2 separate regions of the Homo sapiens genome follow, and region 2 is linked to region 1. The links are contacts of gene promoters, found by promoter capture Hi-C in blood cells and fetal thymus (Javierre and others, 2016). All regions are on one chromosome and are shown on one strand. Each heading gives the region's core, a stretch centred on a gene start or on the middle of the fragment in contact. The rest is flanking DNA. Distances are from core to core; before and after follow the strand shown. Region 1 holds the start of PHGR1 (proline, histidine and glycine rich 1). Region 2 overlaps LOC105370941 (a long non-coding RNA gene).

Region 1 (4,996 bases), core at 1,067-3,566:
GTGGGGCCACACACATGGAGCAGGCCCTGCTTGCCCTCAAAATCTTAAGACTGGGTAGGAGAAGAGTCCATGAACACATACACCCTGCTATAGATCGTCTCCCATGTGCCACCACACCGTGGGTGCCCTCCTCACTTCTCACAGGCCTCTGGGCCCACTCGGGGTTCAGAGGCTGCCCTGTCTTCTCAGTCCACCCCATCAAGGCAGGGCCTACTGCCACCACCCAAGGCCTCACTACTCTGCCTGACTGCTGCTGTAGTGGGTTCTGTGATTGGCACCCACTGGAGCTCAGACCTTGATTCCCGAGATGGAGAACTTAGGCCTCAAGCCTGGAACCCAGAGCACTGGGCCCCCATGCATTCCTCTCAGCCCCTGCTTTCCTCCTGGGGCTTTGTGAAGACACAGGCCTCTCTTTCAGCTTCCTGCCAAAGGCTGGGGACAGAGGTGGAGAGGTTGCGGTGTCAAGATCCCTGAAGGGTAAAAGGAAGCAGAGTAGGGCTTAGAGGGCTGGTGAGGGCGGTGAGCACAGTGAGCAGTGGATGCAGTTGGTAACATTCACACAGTTTGGGCCGGAGCCTGGCAGGCACCATACCTTTGTAAACCTCCCCTGGGACTTCTGCCCCTCCCCAGTAGGCCGCCCTGTCCTGGTTCCCCATAGACCCACAGCAAATGTGTGCAGAAGGGACCAATAGCCTCCCACCTAGTCATAAACCAAAGTCCTTTGACCAACAATGTTAGCAAAGCAGGCTGGAATTTTTCAGAAGAGCATTCCTAAAAGGAGAGATTACCTAAGGTGAAGAAAGGGCCCGGGCTCTAGACTCAAATAGTCCCCAGTTGGGACTAACTACACACTTGGTGGGCGACCTCAAGCAGATTTCTTAATGTCTCTGAACGCTGGCAATGTTTTAATCTATAAAAGAGGGGAAGATCATAACCATTACCTCCAAGAGCTGATATGAGATAACTGATACTGTAAGAGAAACTGGCACACAAACACTTTCCTGCCCACCGTGGAGATAAAGGAGGATCACTCTTTTCCTCCTCTCCATTTTCCAAATTGTATCCTGATGGTGGTTACGTTACTGCTCTAATTGAGGGGATATAAAGGTGACTAAGAAAGCCACCACAGGCCGGGTGTGGTGGCTCATGCCTGTAATCCCAACACTTTGGGAGGTCGAGGTGGGTGGATCACCTGAGGTTAGGAGTTTGAGACTAGCTTGGCTAACATGGTGAAACCCTGTCTCTACTAAAAATACAAAAGTTAGCCAGGAGTGGTGGCGGGCGCCTGTAATTCCAGCTCCTCGGATGGCTGAGGCAGGAGAATCACTTGAACCCAGGATGCAGAGGTTGCAGTGAGCTGACATCGTGCGACTGCACTCCAGCCTGGGTGACACAGAGAGACTCCGTCTCAGAAAGAAAAGAAAGAGAGAAAGAGAGAGAGGAGGAGGAGGAGGAGGAGGGAAGGAGGGAAGGAAGGAAGCCACAACAGCCCCTGCCTCTGAGGAGCACAGAGTCCCCACTGGGATCAAGAGACATCAGGAGCAAGGATCCAGGGAGACAGGAGAGCTGAGCAAGGGCACTGGCTCTGTCTGCAGGGGACTAAGGAAGGCCACCATGGCTAGAGCACGCCAAGCAAGAGGTTGTGGCAGGCATCAGAGGCCACAGGGGTCAGTGGGGACCGGACCACAAGGGGCTTTCGGAGTGCAGAGCAAGCTGGCAGGCTGGGCTCCCTCCCCGCCTGCCTAGATCCATCCCAAAAGTTCCCTTTTCTGTGTCTAATTTCCATTCTCAGGCTAGCTCCCTGGGCTGGGCAGCACATCTGACAATTCAGGCCTGGGGCTTGGCGCCCAGGGCAAATATTCCACCAGGTCCTCCACTATGGTCACTATTTATTCCTCCACCTGCTGAAAGGAGGTAATCATCCTATCTATCTTGTGGGACTCATTGGGTTACTAATGTGTGTGAAGCACCGCATGCCTGGCCTGGCATTCAGTAGGAACTCTACAAATGTTCAGAGCCAGTCCCTGGTGTAAACAGCCTTGCCAGTGTTGGGGACTTCTGCCTGGATTCTGTGGCATCTCGTTACCACACCAATCTGGTAACGGCTTGTTCCCCAGCCTCCCCATCACACACACACACACACACACACACACACACACACACACATCCTGCTTTCAACTGTCCTTTGCCCAGATAAGGATTAGCCCATCCCTCTTCATTCCCTCGAGCCTTCTGCATCTGGCCCTCCCAGTGCACCTGTTCAATCCCAGCCCCTCCCTGACCTGTACAAATACACCTGAGGACAGACAGTGCCCCAGACTTCCTGCCCCTGCTCTGCACTCTCAGGTAGGGACCTGGCTCTACTTGCTGTTGGCTGGGGACAGTAGGGTCTCTGTGGGGTATGTTGTGTGTGCATGTGGTCAGGGTCTCTCTGGGTGTGTATATGCATTGAATTGGTATCCGTGCTTCCGTGTCTCTGCATGAGGGTGTGTGTCTGTCCATTTGCACTGTCCCCACTCCTGGGCTGGGCCCCTACACTTCCACTGTCTTCTTCAGTTATGATTTATAGCCTTTGCCATGCCAGGCAGCAGGGCTTAGCTGAGAGTGGAAGAAATTGCATGAGGTCCCTTCCAGAGCTGCCAACTCCTGTCCCTCAAACACCTGGGCCTGAACTGGGGAGATACATTCTGAGGATTGTCTTTTCTCTTTCGTCTTACCCGATCCTGACTGGCCCTGAGGTTTTCTTTACCTCTCCTCCCCGCAAAGCCCAGCCCCATAGGTCTCTTCCAGCTTTATCACTCACTAAGGGAAAGGACGAGGGAGCACGAAGGACCATGGGTATAGTTCACAGGCTGACCTCAGCTGAACACTTTGAGTACAAGTAGAGGCCAGTGAAAATGGGTAGCTCAAGAGGTGCAGGGGGCCGGGTGCAGTGGCTCATGCCTGAAATCCAGCACTTTGGGAGGCTAAGGTGAGAGGATCACTTGAGCCTAGGCTACATAGTGAGACCTTGTCTCTACAAAACAATTTTTTTTTTTGAGACAGAGTCTTACTCTGTCACCCAGGCTGGAGTGCAGTGCTGCAATCTCGGCTCACTGCAGCCTCTGCCTCCCGGGTTCAAGCGATTCTTCTGTCTCAGCCTCCCAAGTAGCTGGGACTACAGGTTCCCGCCACCATGCCCAGCTAATTTTTGTATTTTTAGTAGAGACGGGGTTTCACCATATTGGACAGGCTGGTCTCGAACTCCTGACCTCAAATGATCCACCCATCTAGGCCTCCCAAAGTGCTGGGATTACAGGCATGAGCCGCTGTGCCCAGCCAAAAAAAATTTTTTTAATTAGCTGGGTGTGGTGGCACATACCTATAGTCCCAGCTACTCCAGAGGTTAAGGTGGGAGGATTGCTTGAACCCTGGAGGTCGAGGCTTCAGTGAGCTGTGATCACGCCACTGCACTCCAGCCTGTATGACAAAGTGAGACTGTCTCAAAAAAACTTTTAAAGAGGCACTAAGGCTCCCTAGAAAAAAAAGAGGTTCAGGGGGCTGTGTCTTGCAAGAGGCTAGGGTTGTTGTATTGGGGGCGCTGTTTGTTTTTGTATGCTCAGCAAACTTGTAAGTACCAGAAAGCCCTGATGTCAAGTATTTGCTCCTGACGTCACATACTACACTCCCATTTGAGGGTTGAAAAAAAATGAATGTACTGTATGTTCACTGGGCCCATTCTGGGGTTGTCCATTGTGACTTGCCAGCCCCAAGCAAGACATGGCCAGCCTTGGCACCACGTTACCTCAGCAGCTCCATCTCATGACAGCACGGCTTGTTGGTGAATGACAAGTTGGCTCAGACTCCAAGCTCCCACCCCCTTCCAATCCTGGTGGGAGGAGACAGGTACAAGCAGCTAGGACCCCATGGAAGGCTTTCCATTCACTTGAGCCCCAGGGCAAAAATCCATTCACTTGTGCCCTCAGGGGCCACCAACCCCATTCCTGTCCTAGCAAACCATCCTTCCCGTCCCTGCACTGGGCACACTGATAGCTCCAAGCTTCCTGCTCCCATGCCATGCCAGATGTTTACACAAGACAAGAGTCTGTAGGGACAAGCATACCATGACCTGGCACAGGGCAGACACACAACATGAATAATTAGCAAATGAACGGATATTGAAATCTTCCCAAGAGGAATCGGATTAACACACAATTGTTGAGTCTAGGGGGGCAAGTGTAAGAGTATGGGGTGTAGGGGCTGGTACATGGTGCTGTTGTGTCTCCATCTACCCACCATGTAGGTGAACCCGCTGTGTCCATTTAACCCCCATGCCTGGCACCTACAGTGCCAGCTCTATATTGGGGCCAAGCTAAGCCGGAGGGAGCAGTTTTTTCCCTTTCTTCCTTTGAAGGGTGTGTGTGTGTGTGTGTGTGTGTGTGTGTGTGTGTGCGCGCGCGCGCGCATCCGTGGGAGGGAGAAAGGAAAGACTGCAATTTAGATTACAGTAAATTAAAAGTTACCTTTTGAACACAGGTATTCCCTGCTCTTACTCCAAAAAGATGGACCCAGGTAAGCACTGTGGCTGAGAGGCTGGGAATTGGAAGAAGGGAGAGAGCAGGAGAGCGGTAAAGGCAGGGACTATCAGTCAGCCATAACTAGTGCGTGCCAAAAATGTACGTGCGTGTGTGTTTGTATGAAGGCAGTGGTAGGGGTCCACAATGAAGACAAGCCCTTACATACTGTAGAACATGTTACAGTTTAAAAAGCATGCTTACTCATCATGTTCTTAGGTGCTTCTAAGGGTAGGTGCTTCTCCCACCGCACACTCAAGGCCCAGGGGAGCTAGGGGTTATGCTCAGGGAAAGGCCATAGAGGTGCAGCTGGGTCGGAATCCAGAATCCAGTTCTTGGGAGCTGTGCCATCGGCTTCCCTCGAAATGAACAAAAGACCGTCCTAGCCTTTAAGAAGTAGCAGGTGATTCCCACACCAATGGGGCACTTCAGAACATGCAGGA
Region 2 (5,664 bases), core at 2,562-5,061, 560 kb before region 1:
TAAATACATAAGCTTTTGTGGGCCACAGTTTCTTCATTTGAAAAATGAAGTTGGACTAGTTTTGCAGTGCTTAACTGCACAGAGCATTAGAATCACCTGGGGAGACTTCATAAACTACACAACCAGGGGTGTACCTGAGATCAAATGAATCTAGGCCTTCTCAACTTTAATGTGCAGACAAATCACCGAGGAATCTTGTTAAAAATGCTGATTCAAAAAAAAAAATGTTGATTCAGTATCAGGTGAGACCTGAGACTAACAGGCTCCTAGATGATGCCAATGCTCCCCGTCCACCGACCGCTGTTTACCTAGCGGCAAGACGAGATCATTGCCAAGTGCCTGCACGGTTCTCATACACCATAAACGAAGGCCATTCTTTCCAGTTTTTAATTTGGTGACTAATAGTGTCCACTAAGAAAACAATACCTTCCCAATTTCTCGGGGGGGGAAGGGGCTGAACTAAGAAAAAGCGGACCTATGATTACTGCTGTTTTCATTTTTTTAACTGTTGTTTTTAAAATGCAACATAAGATGCATATAAAGCAAGTGAAAATAAAATTCGGGTTCCACGTAAACTTTGTGTCTCTTCACTGTTTGTAACCTTTCCAGACTAAGTCCCTATTGACTATATTTGCATAAAACTATTTATCTCATTTTGAATTGTTTTGTCTCTGTGTCACTCTCACGTGTTTATTTACCTCCTGCTGCTTCCATTTTGTAAACTGCCGAGAGGCTGTGTGTGCCTTAAGGGCCAGCTTTAATAAATTGCATTTGTTGTGTATTTGTTTTTAATTTCCCCAGATACTTCTGTGTCAGCTATTGCAGGTGACACCCTCAAAACAGCACGGGGATATAAGTCCGAGAGCACCAAATGTCTATACTGTGTTTTCTGCAGTTCCATTTTCAAAAATCGCAAACACATCCTGGAAAGTGTTGTGCCCTTCAAAGTCATTCATAAAAATTTCTTCTAGAGTCAAGATATTTGAAGCTAAAATTTCCCTGGTCTCATTCCAGGTTGGTGACATATGGCAGTGGCAGTGTTAGTTTCGGAGTTAGCTTTTGTTTTTGTTTGCAGTCTCTCCCTACTCTTGACATCCTCCTTCCGAGTGGAGTCAGATTTGAATGAATGAAAGCGAGCAAGAGCATTGTTTGCCATCTGGGCACCAACTACCATTTCAGCCTTGTTGCCCCGGTTGCCCTTTCCTCACCATAAACTTCAACCGAATGTAACAATATGGTAGGAGAGGGATCTCATTAAGCCTCATATCGTAGATTCTACACACTGGATTTTGTGTATAATAGCCATTCCTACTGGAGAGCAGATAATAGTGTTTACCACTGGATAGTTCCCATGTCCTGTGAATCTATGCTTAGTGTTATTGAAAAACTGCATTTACAAAGTGTTTCAGACTTGCCTTCCAAGCATCATTTCACTTCATTCATAACATTCTATGAGTCGGCACTAGTATTACCTGGATTTAGAGTTGAGAAGCAGAGCACCTAAAGGGTAAGTAATTGTCCCAAGGTCGTTGGGGAACTAACTGGCACCGGGATTCCAACCTAGGTTCCAAAGCCTGCCCTCCATCTCCTCAGGGGTCCGAATTCTAGAAGAGGAGATATTTGTGTCCACTAGATGGTGCTGATTGTCCTCTTAAAAAAAAAAATTGGCAGCCACTTTCAGAAACACGTTCCTTTGGATTTTAGGTGTAATTCAAGAAACCACTGAACTGAAGTATCTTGTATGTCTGAATTGTGCCTGGATGCATCTTTAAATAGCCACCCAAATAGGAAAAGTGAAAATTTGATCTCAAAAAAACTGCATTTTTTAAAATGTTAGTACCTATAAATAATATCAAAAAACCATGGTGACTTTGAGACTCTGAAAATTCTCATACATCTGTATTTACATTAAATCAGTAGACTTAAGAAGAAATACATGTTTTATTCCATGTACCCCTTTTATACCAACTGTACTCCCTCCAGCATCTCCCAATCCTGCTTGGCCACAATGCCATCCATGCCAGCAAGGGTCATGAACAGGGAAGTAAATAAAGCCTGAAAAAAACAACAATCAGATTCTGGAACAGGTAACACTTTTTTCTTTTTCTTTTTTTTTTTTTTTTTTGAGATAAAGTCATGCTCTTTCACCCAGGCTGGAGTGCAGTAGCACAATGATCATGGCTCACTGCAGCCTCAACTTCCCAGGTTCAAGCAACCTCCCACCTCAGCCTCATGAGTAGCTGGGACTACAGGCATGCAACACCATGCCCGGTTGAATTTTTTTTTTTTTTTTTGTAGAGGTGAGGTCTCCCTATGTTGCCCAGGCTTAATGCTATTATTATTGAAAGTAAAATACATGTTAAGTATATGTTTCATATGTGCTTAGTACCTTATTTTAGTACATTTTTTAGAACTTAAAAGCTGTGAAATAAACCCGATTCAAATGGGTTGTCAGATTTTGTTGTTGAGAAGGATCAGTTCAGGTGTTATTTAAAATATTGATTCTAGTCCCTATTACATGATTCAGTGGGTCTGGAATGCAGACCAGGAATCTGCATTTTTAACAAGTCCCTTGGTGCTTGTGGTACAGATGAACCACTGACTTCAAGTTAATGTTTTAGAGGGTAAATAGTGGTGAGGACATTGCTCCTGGAGGCACCATGGAGCCCCCTGCAGCTGTTCTACACGGAGGCTGTGAACAGTGACATCCAGCACTTCCTTTGTAAACAGCAGGCTAGAGACTGAAAAATGCTCTCCCTGTAGAACTCTTTCCCTCCTCTCCCTGTCTGCTGTGGAGTGCTGCACAGAATTAGCTGCTGGTCAGTGGATGTCTCCATTTTTTAAAAGATCAAGCTTACAACTTCTCAATGCCTATTGGTCCAAAAACAGTGATGACTTTAGGTTTGTTTTCAGTTAAAGAAGTTAGATCATGTATTGTCATATAACTATTCAACTGGCTCGAGCGATCCGAATGTCAACCTAGGGGGCCACAAACTTCCAGGACATTGTGAAATTGTGTAAAAATCAGTGCACACATACACACACACACACACACATAGCAGTGCAGCTACATGTTTCTGGCCTAGAGGGTTGTTTTTAAAGATAGTAAAGTAAATCAATGAAAACGAAGGTATGTTATAATATCCAGAGTCATTTGCAGGGGGAAGGTGTCATGTCAAGTGGGCCCTAAAGCAATCAGCTCTGCCAAGTGAGTCATTCTCACCAGAAAGGAGAAAAAAATCGGTTTCTCTTCTTTTCTAAGGAAATTCCCTCAAAGTAACAGACTGCTTAACTTTCTCATGATCTTACTGGCTACAAAGTTTGGTCACCCGCAGCAACTCTGTACCTGTAAAGATTTAAAGAGTTGGCAGAAACTTCCCAAGGCCAGCTGCAGTTTCAGTTGCTGGATGCCCACTGAGATTAGTGTCTCGCCCCTGTCAGCTGAATGGATGTGACACTGCTTGCGCATAATGGCTGAAATTGCACTGCAACTATCAATCCTGGGCTGAAACCAACAGATTCTGAACATTGCCCATGCATTGGGTTTCATGCTTCATGCTTTCAACCTACAGGTAAGCTTGTCTCTGAGTCCAAAACCTAACTTCAGTATTGAGCTTGGTCTCTCTGATCCCATAGGGGTTTGTTAGTTTGTTGTTTTAAATTGGATCTCCTGATCTGTGTACTTGGTTGAGGTAAGCAGGTCTATGCAAACCTACCCCCAAAGGCCAAGGAAGCTGAGAGGCCAATGAAAGAAGCTGACAAGTCCAGTTTCTCAGAAAGAAACATTCAATAAGGGCTTACAAACAGAAGCCATGTCTCTGGCGGCCAGAGAGACAGTGGATCCCCGCAACTGCCCTCCAGAAAGCATCTTTTATATAGCAAGATTTTAGGGAAAGATGTGCAGCCAGTCATGCCTCAGGCCTTCTTGCAAAACTCATGACCCCTGGGGTGGTTAGATAAGCATCTCTATGAGAGTTTATCTATGCTACAGGAACACATTGGTCATCTTGCTATGCAACAGGCCGTTTTCCTACAATACTAAAATGAAGCTTTAGTATATAGTTATGTAAGCCTTCATTATTATGTAAACCTTTGTACATATTTTAACAAAAAATAAAGGAAGCTAAAATAATTAAGATGCCATATTAGAAACATTCAAATCAAATATTTAGGGTGTTAAGCAGCAAGGTAAGGAAATGATTTTTCTCAGAGTTAACATCTCAGACATAAAGAAATAAGAAGTAAACCACCCCAGGGGTTTGTTCATCAGTCATGGGTCAGGCTGCCACAATGTTTAAGTCTCATCCTGGCATTCTTAGCTTCTCACTTTATTTCTTACACAATCTTTTTCTTAGCTGGAATCCAAAGTAATGTTTCTATCTGAACATACAGTGTTTATTACACTAGGAACTAGTCATCATTTTGAAGACTTGGTTTTCTTGTTTACATTTTTAAAATTTGATCATCCAAACTCCTTTCTTAATAGAAGCTGGCTTATTTTCCCCTTATTTTGCCATAATAGGCAAACTAAAATTAGTGCTTTAATTTTGTTCAAAATTTGTGATGTTTTATATTTTTGTAATTCATCACTGACACACATTTTAAAATACACATCTCTGGATTTTCTGTCCTGTCTTTGCCAAGAACAGTGTGGCCTGGGCCTAGTCTCTTAACCTCTTTCCACCTCAGTTTCTTTGTCTAGTAAATAAGAGGTAGATAAAGGTTTCTACCACTACTTCCAGCTCTGAGACCCTGTGATTTTCTGATTTAAGCAGTCTCTGCTCTCTTTGGAAATGACCTGCTTCTCAACCCAACATTCATAACAATGTAAAAGGCATCTGCTCAACGTGCATGGCAGCAAGAATTACTTGTTTAGAAACATCTGGGTAATGGTAACAACCATCTGTCTTGTCCCTGCAATTGTCGAACAAAGAATTAAGCAAGCAAAACCACAAGAGAAGTGCCCTATTTTTATAGAACGATGCAATAGAACAGAATTTGTTTAGGTTTTATGAGAGTTGCATATGTATCCCACCTCTGTTATGGAACGGCAAGCCTCTTCACCTCTGCAGACTTCAGTTTACCAGCCTATCTGTCAAACAATGGGAAGATAACTCTCTAGCACTGTTCCTTATTTTGTTGAAATAGAGAAATTAATATGTTCTTGAGACACTATACTGAATTTTTCATTGCACTTGTTAATAAAATGAGTATTTTCATGTCAAATAACAGCAACCATCCAATCCATGCTGGAGAATGAAAGAAAAGCAGATGAATTATCAGGTTCAATTCATATCTGGTGTGCATTAAATGCTCATCTATCTTGTATAGCTTGCTACAGATGATGGTATTTTGGTGAAAATTGCCAACAATTTTTTAAATGAATCTAGAGATCATTACCTGGACCCAAATTTGTGAGAATTTTGCATTCGGGTGGACACTTGCATCCATGCATTCAATTTTCTATCATTCATTGGTCATTTTTTCTGAGTTAAATCCTCTAGCGAGGGCCGGGCACGGTGGCTCACGCCTGTAATCCCAGCACTTTGGGAGGCAGAGGCGGGCGGATCACGAGGTCAGGAGATCTAGACCATCCTGGCTAACACGGTGAAACCCCGTCTCTACTAAAAAATACAAAAAATTAGCGGGCGTGGTGGTGGGCGC

The links. The method cuts DNA at HindIII sites, captures the fragments that hold promoters and counts their contacts. A CHiCAGO score of 5 or more calls a contact.
Region 2: a contact is called between a fragment that was not itself captured here and the fragment with the promoter of PHGR1 in region 1, in 4 of 17 cell types (total B cells, naive B cells, naive CD8 T cells and 1 more). The highest score is 8.1, in total B cells.

Annotation. Positions count from the first base shown.
Region 1 is chr15:40,348,717-40,353,712 of GRCh38, forward strand. It overlaps PHGR1 (proline, histidine and glycine rich 1), which reads left to right and starts at 2,317. Exons shown (of 4, transcript NM_001145643.2): 1 at 2,317-2,346; 2 at 4,516-4,551. The coding sequence starts at 4,542. The HindIII fragment of the contact is 24,416 bases long and covers 1-4,037 here.
Region 2 is chr15:39,785,043-39,790,706 of GRCh38, forward strand. It overlaps LOC105370941 (a long non-coding RNA gene), which reads left to right. Exons shown (of 1, transcript NR_135665.1): 1 at 1-575. Among named protein-coding and RNA genes, the nearest start is that of FSIP1, 5.0 kb to the left of the region's middle. The HindIII fragment of the contact is 472 bases long and covers 3,576-4,047 here.